Linked DNA regions of Homo sapiens: all the other regions are linked to region 4. Evidence: promoter capture Hi-C in 16 types of primary human blood cells and fetal thymus (Javierre and others, 2016). All regions are on one chromosome and are shown on one strand. Each heading gives the region's core, a stretch centred on a gene start or on the middle of the fragment in contact. The rest is flanking DNA. Distances are from core to core; before and after follow the strand shown.

Region 1 (2,700 bases), core at 142-2,641, 280 kb after region 4:
ATCTTTAAAGGGCATCTATTTTTCTTCAGTTAATGCTGTAAAAAAATATTGCATTGACATGGTTAAATTCCCAGGACCCTCAGTTCTTTAGGAATGGACTCAATGGCTGATATTAATATTATCATTTACAAAAGTATCTTGAACTTGATGGAGCTTGTGTTGATAAATAAAGTTTATATTTTTAATTTTTATATTTTGATTTCACTTTTTCGAGTCCCCTCACATTTAATTTTGGGGGAGCCATTATAAATGATTTTTTGTTCATTTGTTTGTTTTTTGATATGGAGTCTTGCTCTATTGCCCAGGCTGGAGTGCAGGGGTGCGATCTTGGCTCACTGAAACCTCCACTTCCTGGATTCAAGCTATTCTCCTGCCTCAGCCTCCCAAGTAGCTGGGATTACAGGTGCCCACCACCATGCTCAGCTAATTTTTATATGTTTAGTAGAGACAGGGTTTCACCATGTTGGCCAGGCTGGTCTTGAACTCCTGACCTCAAGTGATCCACCCACTCTGGCTTCCCAAAGTGCTGGGATTACAGGTGTGGGCCACCATGCCCAGCCATGATATTGTTTTAAATTGAAGTTTTCAGTTGACAATTGCTAGTATATAGAAAAATGACTTTTTTTCTTTTAATCGTTTATCCTAGGCCAGGCATGATGGCTTATGCCTGTAATCCCAGCACTTTGGGAGGCCGAGGCGGGTGGATCACCTGAAATCAGGAGTTCGAGACCAGCCTGGCCAACATGGTGAAACAATGTCTCTACTAAAAATACCAAAAATTAGCCGGGTGTAGTGACAGGCACCTATAATCACAGCTATTCAGGAGGTTGAGACAGGAGAATCACTTGAACCCAGGAGGCAGAAGTTGCAGTTAGCTGAGATTGCACCATTGCACTCCAGCCTGGGCAACAAGAGTGAAACTCTGTCTCAAAAAAAAAATCCTTTATCCTGTGACCTTTATACATTCCTATTTTAGTTCTACGAGGTTTGTGTGTGTGTGTGATTCCTTGGGATTTTCTATGTACACTACTATGTCATCTGCAAATAGAAACAGTTTTATTTCTTTCTTTACAAACTGTATGCCTTTTATTTATTTTCCTTGCCTTATTGCCTTGGCTAGAACTTTCCAGTACAATGTTGAATAGGAGTGGTGAGAGTTGGCATACTTGCCTTGTTTCTCATCTGAGGGGAAAGGTATTCAGCCTTTCACCATTTAGTACAATGTTAGCTCTAGATTTTCTGTCGAAGTCCTTTATCAGGTTGAAGAAGTTTCTCTGTGTTACTTGTTCGCTGAGAGTTTTTTTTTATCCATGGATGGATGTTGAATTTCATCAAATGCTTTTTCTATATCAATTGCTAAGAGTTGCCATTACAACATGTAATTGAGACTACTGAAAATAGATTTACATGCAAGGTGTGTAAGGAAGATAAAATGTGTTTTTGGTAAAAGATTATAAGAAGGCATGGGAATGTAAATTTTTGCCTAGTTTAGAGAGGTAAAGGATTGTTTTAAATTAGATAAGATTAAAAAACTAGATAAGATAAAGCTAAAGGCTTAAACAAGTGGTGGAAAGTTTGTAAAAATTAATCTTTCAAAAGAAATCGTGTGTGTGAACATATTGACTAACTTCAAAAAGGTATTATAGGGTTTTTCCACAAATTGAGCATTGGAATAAAAGCACAAGATTTTCTTAAGGCATTGATCTACTCTTTAACAAAATTTATAAAGAGTTATGAAAGTCTTATAAGAATCTCACCTCATGGTCAAACTGGTTAAGATTGGATAGAATTATCTATAAGGTTTCATTAAAAAAATTGGGGTTGACATTAATAATAGACTAATGCAAAGGTGAAATTTAGCTTTCTCTCCTTTGAACAGGATTTTTATGTAGTATTAAGGACAGATTGTTTGGAAAACTAAATCTTCCCTCTTAATGAGTAAAGGTTTTTGCCTTGTTTAAACTTTTTGAGTCATCATTTTGGCTAAATAAATGACTTATGGTAATCCGGAATTCTATTTCATAATATCAGGTGTTTTAAACCTTTAACATATTTGACAGCCTTCCCCAGATCAAACTTCAGTTTCAAGGTTGTCTTTTCCAACCCTAACTTTTGGGTGCCACAGAGGGCCCCTGGGGCATCCAAAAGAGTTAGGTAAACAGGGTTATTTGACATGTTTATTTATGTAGCATTGCCAAAATAATGTTTAATTCTCTTCAGGTTATATTTTAGTGAATAATGTTAACATATGTTCCAGAATTGCAAGGGATTTCTAAAATTCTAATGTCTGAGTATGTGCTAGCAATCATAATTAAGGTTACTATGTTAAGTTATTGTCAACCACAGAAATAACCAAATTTCTTTGTCAATTGTGTTTTTGATCCTAACTACCCTGAGGACATTTTGTCATTCACAGACAATTGTTGTCTTGCTTTGATTCTTTTCAAAAGATGGTTTATAATCAGCTATAGGACTTTGACAGGTGGTCTGAAATACAGGTTTCTGATAACTTTGGAGATTGCAACATTGGAATAGAGGAAAACATACAGGACTCATGAAGAGCCAAAATGTTCATGAATATCAAGCAGAATAAGGGTTCACTGAATTGACTGAACTAACAGAAAACTGAAGTAATCTTTTTATAACTTTTTGCTTAAGACATTGCTGATCCTTGTTTTGTTTTTCAGAATCAAGGAAACT
Region 2 (2,700 bases), core at 154-2,653, 280 kb before region 4:
ATTCTAGTGTTTTCCCTTTCCAATGTGTAACACCTTCCTCCAAAATGAGACAGCTGGCTTCCGCTACCCTTAATATTTTCACGTACAGTGATCAAATCCCTTATCCCTAACTAATCTGCCATTGCCATTCATCCCCTGCATAGATGCATTCCCCACGCCACTTGGGATCTGACTCCTTGTACCAAGCTACATCCCCAGTTCCCACAAGGATACCACCCACACTCACAGGCTGCAAATCCACATGAATCCCTAGCTTGCTCTGTCTTACCTAATGGCCAAATTGTGGGTAAAGGAAAAAGGGAAGGAATTTGGATCTTGTTGGAATTTTACGTAAACACCACAAAGGAAGAGATCATCTGATTTAAACTGATGTATCCCCAGTATCTAAAACAGACTTTGGCATATATGAGGTAATAGTTAGGTCCTTTTTGCCCTTCTACCTTCTGCTATATGAGGATGCATAAGAGGTACCATCTTGGAAGCAGGCAGCAGCCCTCTTCAGACACCAAATCTGCCAACGACTTGACCTTGGACTTCCCAGCCTCCAACTGTGAGAATATCAATTTCTGTTCTTTATAAATTACTCAGTCTCAGGATTTTGCTGGAGCAGCAGAAACTGACCAAGATAAATACTTTCTTACATCAGAAGACACTGGCCAGTAATCCCAGCACTTTGGGAGGCAGAGGCAGGAGGATCACTTGAGCCCAGGAGTTTGAGATCAGCCTAGATTTCATGGCGAAACCCCATCTCTACCAAAAATACAAACAATTAGCTGACACTGTGGTCCCAGCTACTTGGGAGGTTGAGGTGGGAGGATCACTTGAGCCCGGAAGGCAGAAGTTGCAGTGAGCTGAGATCAAGCCACTGCACTCCAACCTGGGTGACAGTGAGACCTTGTCTCAAAAAAATAAAGAGAAAAAAAAAAAAAAAAGACACTGAGACCACTTCAGAAATGGATACAGGTGTGGGAGGAGGCTGAAGCTTACATAACTTTGGGGGCATTCTTCAGAAATTAGGTCTTAGAAGGACTATGCAAATGAGGAACCCTGAGGCTTAAGCAGCAAGTCTGCTTCCTGAAGGAAGTTAGGAGTGAAAGTACCCAGGCCCGGTGCTTGGCACAGAGCAGGCATACAAAACTTCAGGTATTACTTTGAAGAATCCTGTATCCAGCCTCTATATATTAGGCCCTCAACAAATCTCTATTAAATGCTACTGACCTATAACTTGTCACACCCTAGAAAACAGGTTCTAATGAAGTTTTGCTGTTTAACAAAGAATGACACATACGGACTGCCAATAAGGTCTTATCATTTTAATCGATTTTAATGATTATTGCTCATCTGCAAGGATTAATATTGCATTCATTAAAAATCATTCAATACAAAATGAACTTGTTCTTCCCAAGTTGCTCTCCACATGCTCCCTCTGATGCCAGACTTTTTTTTTTTTTTAACAGTGTCCTTTGTTACATGGCTTGACAGAGACAGAGCCCTTACCTATTATTCCTATGGACACGGTAATAGATATGGGATCAAGGGGCAGGTCAGAGGGCAGGTGAATGTGGGTCCCTTCCCTCCAGCAGGGCTAACGTGATGGATACACTGTTGGCCAGGTTACCTCCCCTAACAGATGTGGTGTTCTGATTGGTTGGTTAAGTGCCCGAGGAAAATAGGCCTTAACTGTTAACATCTACAGAGAAGAAAGCATGGTCACACTGGCAAGGAGTAAGAAGGGATTGGGTAAAAGAAAATGGGAGAGAAAAGGGAAAAAAGTTTTGGCAAGACAATTGTTCCCTGCTAAGAAGCTGCAGGGTGAAAGCTTTCCTTTCTTCTATTTTTGTTTTTAATGTCTGTCTCTCTGATCAGTGGAAAAGTGAAAATTTCTAGTATCTAGCACTAACGTATGACCCAACTTTGAGGGATCACAAGCTAGAACAAGTTGAGGATTTAAAATCCTGGATAATTATATACTTAAAGCTCATGAGCATAAAGCTCACTTGACCATGCAGAAATGCTGGGAAGCAGGGTGCATGGCATGGGAATACATCTCCCTGATCTTTGAGAGAGCCTCTCTGGATATTCTTTCAGAGCATGAGCCAGGATGTACTGACTACTTTCTTCACACATCAGTTGCCCTTTATGATCTCAGTTCATAAACTCTTTGTGGTATGTAGCAATCAAAAGTCATATTACTTCTGTAAAACTAACATTATATAGGGTGTATAGTCCCAGACAAATTATATGAAGCTAGATTTTTCTTGCCCTGGCCCAATTTATCATTCCTCCTCCTGCCCACACCTACCTCCCTTTAAATATTTTAGGTTGCAGAAGCACAGCTGACCAGAAATTTGCTCTTAAAGATAAATCCTAAAGATAGAACTCAGTGCTTTATACTGAGTAATGGCTCAAGAAATTCGCCTTCAGCACAAGCTGTATGGTACACAGCTGATAGAATTTGCTGTTGTGGCTCCAGTTCACTGATGCTATGAACTACGGGCTAGAAACAGAGGGACTTAACAGGGCTTGAGACTAGCATTTCTCTAGACTCAGCATCCTTAGCTCCAAAGGTTCAAAAGAGAAATTGGTAACAACTAACCACTCAAGCAATTCCTCAGCATTAACACCAAAAATTCTCCTTAATTTTTCTTTTCTTTTTTTTTTTTTTTGGACAACAGAAATAAATCCTAGAGGACAAAATTA
Region 3 (2,700 bases), core at 161-2,660, 330 kb before region 4:
TCTCCAGGATCCAGGAAAATTCAACAAATTGAGTTCCCTGAGCTTGGCTTCCTCGCTTTCACTCTTGGGCCATTCTCTCTGGAATGCCCTCTCTCTCTGCCCCTTAGTACTCCTTCACCCAGGCATCCCCCACTCAACTTTCCAGATTTTCAGATTCAAACTTAAAGCATTCCATGACCAGCTGCCCCCAGCCCAAAGCTGGGACAGCTGCCCTTCTCCTAGCTCCCAGGCCCCCTGTGCTCTCCCAGCCTCAGCAGAGTCACACTCCATGGCGTAAATGCCTGTTGCTCTGTGTCTTTCTTCTGCTAGTCTGGAAAAGCCCTGGGAGTAAGTGGTACTCTCTCAGGATCTATTCTTACTGTGTGACTCCACTATCTGGCACATGGCAGGCAGTCAATAAATGCTTGGTGAATAAAGGAATGCATAAAATTAATCAAACTGTTAAAATGGCCAAAAAGTCTAACCTAAAACAGAAGGGTCTGTTTTATATCAAGAATTAGTTCATCAAAAACTCCTATACAAGACTCGGCGTGGTGGCTCATACCTGTAATCCCAGCACTTTGCAAGGCTGAGGCAGGTGGATCACCTGAAGTCAGGAGTTTGTGACCAGCCTGGCCAACATGGTGAAACCCTGTCTTTACTAAAAATAAAAAATTAGCAGGGTGTGGTAGTGCATGCCTGTAATCCCAGCTACTCGGGAGGCTGAGGCAGAAGAATTGCTTAAACCCACGAGGCAGAGGTTACAGTGACCCAAGGTCACGCCACTGCACTCCAGCCTGGGCGACAGAGACTCCGTCTCAAAAAAAAAAAAAAAAACTCCTCTACAAAATGACTTCTCTATGGTCCATGCCAGCACTTGCCACAGAAGAACCTATTCACCTTCACACAAAGGCAATAGGTCAAACTGAGGCCTACCAGAGAAGAGATACATCTCCGCCTCTCTGGCCCCCTCCCTCCATTACAACCCAACCTCAGTAAGCTGGGCAGAGAGAATGAGCAGAAAACCATAGGTTCAGTGGTGGATTCAGGCTCAAGAAACATGTGTATAATTACTATCACATTCATTCCCATAAAGCTGGAGTACAGACTCATTTCTTCCCATTTTCACATAAGAACCTGTGGCACAGAGAGGTTAAGTGTCTTTCCCAATGAAACAGATCAAATCAATGAAAGAGAAAAAACATCCCACAAATCTTATTCCAAAGCAGACTTCAGCCTGGGTTGTTAGAATCACAGCCAAGGATTCTGGGTGTCCACAACACAAAGATTTTTTCTTTTCTTTTCCTATCATTTTGCTTCTTCTCTCTCTCTCTCTCTCTGTCTTTTTCTCTCTCTGTCTGAGATCATGAGTGAGGAGGAAGCACCAGATCCACAGGTTTATTTACCATTCCTCAGCCTGCCCTTCCAGGAAGAATGTCACTAATGAGAAACAATCTTTTGGGTTCCCAAACCCAGAATTTTTATATGAATCAATTTAGGATTTCAGTATCTAAACAGGACAAAGGTAATACCAACTGTCTTTCCTTTGAAGGAAAAAAAGCAACTGAGTTTTCCCTGTTGGAAGGAAATTTTGTGTATGTCAAGCAAATCTCAGATCTGAGGTTACCTCTTTCTCATCGTCCCTATCCCTTCTGGAAATCCACTGGGGGAAAAAGAAGCACATGTCCTTCCTGTGGTGCAGGCTGAGGGAAGCAGAGAATGAAACGGAAAGTGGTGCTGGGGCTGATGTTTCCCTAAATGAAGAACTGACCTTACAGTTGAGGCCCAGAGCCAGGAACTCTTCTCACAAGACCAGATTCTATTCTAATTCACAGCCAAATGAGGATGATTTTCTTCAACGTGGATGAGACACTTCCATTCCAGCAAAGTGTAAGCACTGTGAAGGCAGGGATCACATGTCGTGTGTGCCACTATATCCTGGTACCAGCAAATGGGGATCACATGGTAGGCTCTCCTGTTAAATGAATGAATTAAACATTCAGCTGGTGTAAAACAGCTAGTAAGTATCATTTCCATTTAAAACGTAGCTCTTCTTAGCAGATGGAGAGGGGTTTTGTTCAGTTTTTTCATTACAGGGCCTGGAATTATCTGGATCTCGCCATCCACTCATCTCTTACTCCATGGACAATTTTTCAGTGACAAATGCTGTTATAATTCAGTTGGTTATTAAACAGCACAAATGGTGAATTCACAAATTCCCTTAAAATTCTGCCCCACATCTGGCTGCATTGGTCATAAACCTCTCAAGTGTTAAGCACTCTGTTTCATTTGGTCTCAGCTTAGCAGAAACCACCCTCTACCTACTGTATCAGTGGCCGCAGCTAGGCATACGAGTCTCAACAGATGCCATTTGCTGATCATGAAGGCAGCAGTGCAATGTCCCCAGGCCACTCTGGCCTCAGCCTTCCTTTCTGGAAGGAGTCCCAGCCTTCCCACTGGGAAAATGAGGGTGCACAGTGAATGATTTCAGCTTCGTTAACTGAAGAAGGACTGAGGAGTCGTGTGGAGTGGGGGACCGCGGATCTGAGTGTAAATTCTGGTTCTGGCACTAACTGGCTGTGTCTACCTGAACAAATGGCTCCCTCCTGGCCTCAGGCTCCTTCTCTAGAAAACAGGGTACCTATTTCACAGAGCTGTGAAGATTAAATAAACCAATCTTAGACAGGCATGGTGGCACATGCCTGTAATCCCAGCTATTCG
Region 4 (2,700 bases), core at 109-2,608:
ACTGCCCTGAGAGCTGTGCTGCAGAGGCCTGGCCAGAACCCTCAGAGCAGCTCCGGACTCCTTCCTCTGTCACTCCTCCACATTCAACTAGAATCCTATGTCTCCCGAGTTGACCCTGTTGCAAATCTGTGCCCCTTTTCATTTGCATGGGCCCTGCCGAAATTCAGAAGCTTAGTTCTTCCCATGACTATAGGGGCCTCGGGCAGGTCTCTTGCTCTGTCAAGGTCAAAACCCCTACTTTCCTAAATTCAACCATTGATTCTCCATCTTCATCTTACTTGATCAGCCACACTTGACATAGTTGATCACTTCTCCCTTTAAACATCTTCACATGGCTTCTGGGACCTTTTGTTTTCCTCCTACCTCCCTGGCCACTCCTTTTCAGACTCCTTTGCTGGTTTGCTCTCATTTTTCCCTAACCTTTACATGTTGATATGCCAGAGCACCTCAAACCCTTAGACCTCATCTCTGCTACTCGTGCTCCCATGGTGATCTCATCTAGTCTCTGGTTTCAAACACAGAGTGATCACTCCTGTACTTGCTGTTTCCCTTTTCCTGGAGTTCTCTCTGCCTCCTGCAGGTAGGAAGTGATTCGAGATAAGAGAGGGAGAGAACTCTTCTGGCCAGGATAGAGGGTGATTCTGAGAAGGCTTCAAGGAAGAAGTGAGCATTTGAGCACGGCTACTTGAGGAAGGCTAGGCCATGGACATTAGGGTGCAGGCAGGAGCAGAGCAAACATGCTTGTAAAAGGAACAGCAATTATTCTGTTTTATATTTATATCAGCCCATGGTGGCCCCCACAGCAGAGTGGCTTGATCTCTCACCTCCTTCAGGTCTTTGTTTAAAGATTAACTTCTCCATGAGGCCTTCTATGAACATAACCTTTAAAAACATAAATCCCCTTCCTACTGGGACTCCCCCAGTTCCCACCCTGAGACCCCCTATCTCTCTTCTCGATTTTATTTCTCTCCATAGGATGTGTATCACCACCTGACTTACTAGCTATTTACTATATATTAGTTTATTTCTTCCCCATTAGAATGTAAACTTCCTGAGGGCAGGGATTTTGTCTGTTGAGTTCAGTTCTGTATCCCCAGCACCTAAAACAGTGCCTGTCCATAACAGGCATGTTAAACATTGTTGGACAGATGAATGAGTGAATGAAAAATGGTAGTACCTTTCCTCCTCCAGTCCATCCTACACAAAGAGGCAAGATTAATTTCCCTAAATGCGTGAGCATTAGGAAGTGGGAGGGATTGGAGGAGGAAATTATAATAAGGAATCCATAAATTACTTAAGCCCATAAAACAAAGGTAGGAAACATTCAAGATAAGAGACCTCTTCTGGCCAGGATAGAGGTTGGTTCTGAGAAGGCTTCAAGGAATAGGCAGACATTTCAGCAAGGCTGCTGAGGAAGGATAGGCTGTGGAAATTAGGATGCAGGTAGGAGGATCACAGAGCAAACACTCCAAGGTGGGAAATGCAAGTGTGTGTAGAAGGAACAGCAAGTATTGTTGGGTTGGGCTGGCTTATGAAGTTGTGACGGGCTGAGGGAGAGACAGGACTGGAAAAGCACGTTGGGGTCAGGTTGCAGAGGTCCTTGACTGACAGAGAGGGGAGCTTGGTCTGTGGGGAATCTTCTGCTCTGTGTGGTCAGAGGCTGGTCTGACTCTCCGGCCTTGCCCCAGTCTTCCTATCCTTCATCCAGCCCCGGCTGGCTCGGTAAAAACGGCGCGAATCTCGCTCTCCCTGGGTAACTAGGGTCCCCACTGCCTGGCTAGTGGTGCTTTTCGCGTCTTCACTGGCACCATTAATGAATGAAGTCTGGCTCCCACCCGCGGGGAAGGGAGGAGCCTCAACCTCGGGTCCTTTGCTCTCCTGCAGCACTCCTGCCCGGGTCCCGCCTCGGGGTCGCCAGGCCCTGAACCCCAACGCCGGCATTAGTCGCGCCTGCGCACGGCCCTGTGGAGCCGCGGAGGCAAGGGACGGAGAACGGGGCGGAGGCGGAGTCAGGGCGCCCGCGCGTGGGCCCCGCCCCCTTATGTCGGGTATAAAGCCCCTCCCGCTCACAGTTTCCCTAGTCCTCGAAGGCTCGGAAGCCCGTCACCATGTCGTGCGAGTCGTCTATGGTTCTCGGGTACTGGGATATTCGTGGGGTGAGTGCCGTCTCAACGGTAGAGCCGCTCGGTCAAAGAGACTGACGCGGAGAGGGCGGGTCTCTGGGTCCGCGATCTCCAGCAGGAGCAGCTCTACGCGGGAGCCTTTTCGAGCTGCCGAGCCACGGATGTCGACCCCTGCCCAGCCTCTGGGATCGCGGGCCCTGTGGGGAGGGGCGGAGGAGACCACGCCGGAGCCGGGCCTAGGGGCCGCTTAACCACCGCCCCGGCAGGACGCAGGGACTCGGCAGCCCCGGGCCGGGGAACGTTAGCGGGCGGGGGTTGGGAATGGGTGGGAGCTGCGCAGTCGCTGAACCGCTGTCTTCCCCAGCTGGCGCACGCCATCCGCCTGCTCCTGGAGTTCACGGATACCTCTTATGAGGAGAAACGGTACACGTGCGGGGAAGGTAATGCCGCTCCGCGTGCCCGTGCAGCCAAGCTGGCCCTCCACCTGCCCTGGTCTTCTTACGCCCAGAGGGTGGTGGCGTCGCGCCAAGGCCGGGTGGGACGTTTGCCCCAATCTGGGTGAATAGAGACACATCCT
Region 5 (2,700 bases), core at 126-2,625, 260 kb before region 4:
AAAAACCCAATTAAATATCAGGCCAGTTTAACATGCTATTTAAAGCACCTCTTCAAATAGCTTAGCAGGTACAATGGTTGACTTTCTTCCATGTGATACTGAGAATGGTAAAGAAAAGCTCTACCAAACGAATAATTTGGGGTATATGCACTACCTAGTGGGAAGTCTGCTGACAAAGTGAGCTGAAAGAATTGTGCAGACCTTACCAAGAGAAGGGGATCAGAGACAATCCAAAAAAGTTACATACCTCAAGAGAAGAAAAATTGTATGCTATTCCTTTAGTTGATCCTAATTGATTTTTTTTTTTTTTACCATTAGAAGCTGAGTTTACTTTCATAAACACACATCCTATATTCTCAGATGTTAAATAGCCCAGCTACACTCCTTCCCAGGGCCCACCCAATTTTGCCTGCTATCTCCTGAATGAGAAAGAATTAACAGCCACCAGAATTCCACTACAACATTTTAGCCAAGAAATGGTGATCAGGATAATATCTGTGATGCATTATATTCTTTAGTCATCACATTTGCTAGGCACCAACTAAGTATCCAGTGCTACTCCAGGAAAGTTCTATGCAAGGAAACACGGTCCCTTAAAATCTGTAGACATGTTTTGACCCACAGTATAGTAATGTAAGTGGCTTTGGCATGGAATTTCACTGCTCCATGAGGAACATGCCAGATATTATAGTCTTCACAGCCTTATCTGGATATTGTTTAACTTAGGTTTAACTTAGACATCTTGTCAAATTCGTTATTTCAAATACCAATCTAACAGCTTTTAATTTCCTCAAAAAGGTTTCTTCCTAAGTGTCAAGAACTAGATTCAAAGATAAACAACAATTACTAGGAAAACAAATCATTAAGAAAGTGTAATGTAGAAGTGAGCAGAGCAGTCTTTCTTACTGCAGAGAATTATTTGAAGGGCTAGGATCCCTCTTTTGGTACACTACTGATTCTCTGGGACATTCCTAAATTTATATATTCTGTCCCATTGTCTGTCCTAGCATATTGTGTGCAGAGATTTTTCTGTTTAGAAATTATGGTCAGCATATTTCTTAGCAACTGAGCAAAAAAAAAGTAACAATAAAAAACTAGATATTTTAACAAGATCATCATTACTAAGCATAGTGTGTCAGAACACTTTTCAAGATTCCTACATCTTTTCTAATCCCTTTTTCACACATATTTTCTGGTTAATTTATTTTTTCTTCTACAGATTCTACCCTCACCCACTCCTTTTTCAGAGGAAAGGAAGAGAATATGGCAGACAGCCAAAACAGGTGTAACACCTTTACTTCCTTACGTTCTCTCTCTTTTTAAAGAGACAGGGTCTCACTATGTTTGCCAGGCTGGCTGCAAACTGCTGGGCTCAAACAATCTTCCCACCTCCTGAGTAGCTAGGACTATAGGCCCACACCACCATGCCCAGTTTTTCTTGATATTTACCAGTCTGATTCCCACTTCAGATGAACCCAAAGAAACAGTTATCAATAAACACCCACTCCTTGGTACAAGAAATACACAAGTCTGAATACCTTTCACTTCAAGTAAAAAAAAAAGTGTTTCCCAAAGAAAGGAATTCCCTTCCCAACACAATGCTCCCAGACACACCCACCAGAAAACAACTTATCTCAAGGGAATCAATCTCAGGCCAGAGTTGAATCCACAGCCACCTCCAGTCACTTCTTCCATTCCCTTGTGCAGAAACCAGTCTTCTGAGACTTAGCAGGTTTTGGCTGCTCCCGGCTCTCCTTCCCTGTCTCAAGTTTCTTAAGTTCTCACTCTCCCCAGATGGGGCCTGAGTTTCTTGGGGGAGAGGGAGGGCAGGCTGACTAATCTCAGCACATATCTTCCCCCGCCGACTCCCGCCTCTGTGTCTCAACAGTAACAGGATATAACACACACACAGCTAGAATCCAATTCCACAGTCAGAAGCAATACTCCTTTCAAAGTAGGACTCAACTAGATCTTCTGTCAATGCTCGCGGCGAGAAGAGGTGAGGCAATACCAGGCCCCAAACTGCTGAGTCACTTAAAAGGTAAGGAACACACAGCTTGAAAAACTCTGCCAAAGAGTAGTTTGACCCTTGTGAGCTACTCCCCTCTCTTCCTGTAAGACTAAACACTTCACTGACTTCACTTCACTATTATCTCCTAAAGTGCTCCAGTCAATGAGTAATCGAGGCCTGCAACTGCCAACTAGAAGTAAACATAAGAAGTTAGAAAAAAGGCAGTAAGTAGGACAGAAAAGGGCTTCCCAATCTTTTGAACACCACAATTTGCAACAGAATGTAACACACACCCAGACTGTTTCAATGCCTATTTAGCTATCTACTACCTACCTAGTTGCCTGACCTGTCCATACTTCTTTTCTCAGTCCCACCACCAATATTATATAAACACATGCCAGTCATCTCTGTTTCTCCCGATATTGATTTATCATCAATTCTAGGTTTAAAAAAAAAAATCAGTACAGGTGACTGAAGAAATCCTGGTTCCTGGAACATACCCACTACTTTAGTGACAACATTAAAGTCTCCTCTCCCACCCCCTACCCTCCATCCCCACTCGCTAGCACCATTGTTGTACTTTACTTTTCCAACTTTATTATAATCATTTTCAGCACATAAAAAAATTCAAAAGCATAGTATAATAAACACCTGTACTCTCCACCTAGAATAAATCTTTCCGTTTTCCA

Evidence for each region. Contacts are between HindIII fragments. The CHiCAGO score rates a contact against its expected background, and 5 or more counts as called.
Region 1: a contact is called between a fragment that was not itself captured here and the fragment with the promoter of GSTM3 in region 4, in 1 of 17 cell types (M2 macrophages). The highest score is 5.0, in M2 macrophages.
Region 2: a contact is called between a fragment that was not itself captured here and the fragment with the promoter of GSTM3 in region 4, in 4 of 17 cell types (M1 macrophages, M0 macrophages, M2 macrophages and 1 more). The highest score is 6.6, in M1 macrophages.
Region 3: a contact is called between a fragment that was not itself captured here and the fragment with the promoter of GSTM3 in region 4, in 1 of 17 cell types (M2 macrophages). The highest score is 5.4, in M2 macrophages.
Region 5: a contact is called between a fragment that was not itself captured here and the fragment with the promoter of GSTM3 in region 4, in 10 of 17 cell types (M2 macrophages, monocytes, neutrophils and 7 more). The highest score is 6.7, in M2 macrophages.

Annotation. Positions count from the first base shown.
Region 1 is chr1:109,454,749-109,457,448 of GRCh38, reverse strand. No RefSeq gene overlaps it. Among named protein-coding and RNA genes, the nearest start is that of SYPL2, 10 kb to the left of the region's middle. RefSeq lists a silencer at 2,596-2,700. The HindIII fragment of the contact is 3,150 bases long and covers 1-2,700 here.
Region 2 is chr1:110,022,341-110,025,040 of GRCh38, reverse strand. AHCYL1 (adenosylhomocysteinase like 1) reads right to left here. Exons shown (of 17, transcript NM_006621.7): 17 at 1,299-2,700. Among named protein-coding and RNA genes, the nearest start is that of STRIP1, 11 kb to the left of the region's middle. The HindIII fragment of the contact is 837 bases long and covers 985-1,821 here.
Region 3 is chr1:110,073,381-110,076,080 of GRCh38, reverse strand. No RefSeq gene overlaps it. Among named protein-coding and RNA genes, the nearest start is that of ALX3, 4.1 kb to the right of the region's middle. The HindIII fragment of the contact is 4,875 bases long and covers 1-2,700 here.
Region 4 is chr1:109,739,696-109,742,395 of GRCh38, reverse strand. It overlaps GSTM3 (glutathione S-transferase mu 3), which reads left to right and starts at 1,358. Exons shown (of 9, transcript NM_000849.5): 1 at 1,358-1,443; 2 at 1,885-2,156; 3 at 2,488-2,563. The coding sequence starts at 2,109. RefSeq lists a silencer at 1,919-2,148. The HindIII fragment of the contact is 14,932 bases long and covers 173-2,700 here.
Region 5 is chr1:110,003,370-110,006,069 of GRCh38, reverse strand. The region is part of intron 1 of AHCYL1 (adenosylhomocysteinase like 1); the gene reads right to left. Among named protein-coding and RNA genes, the nearest start is that of AHCYL1, 20 kb to the right of the region's middle. The HindIII fragment of the contact is 5,770 bases long and covers 1-2,700 here.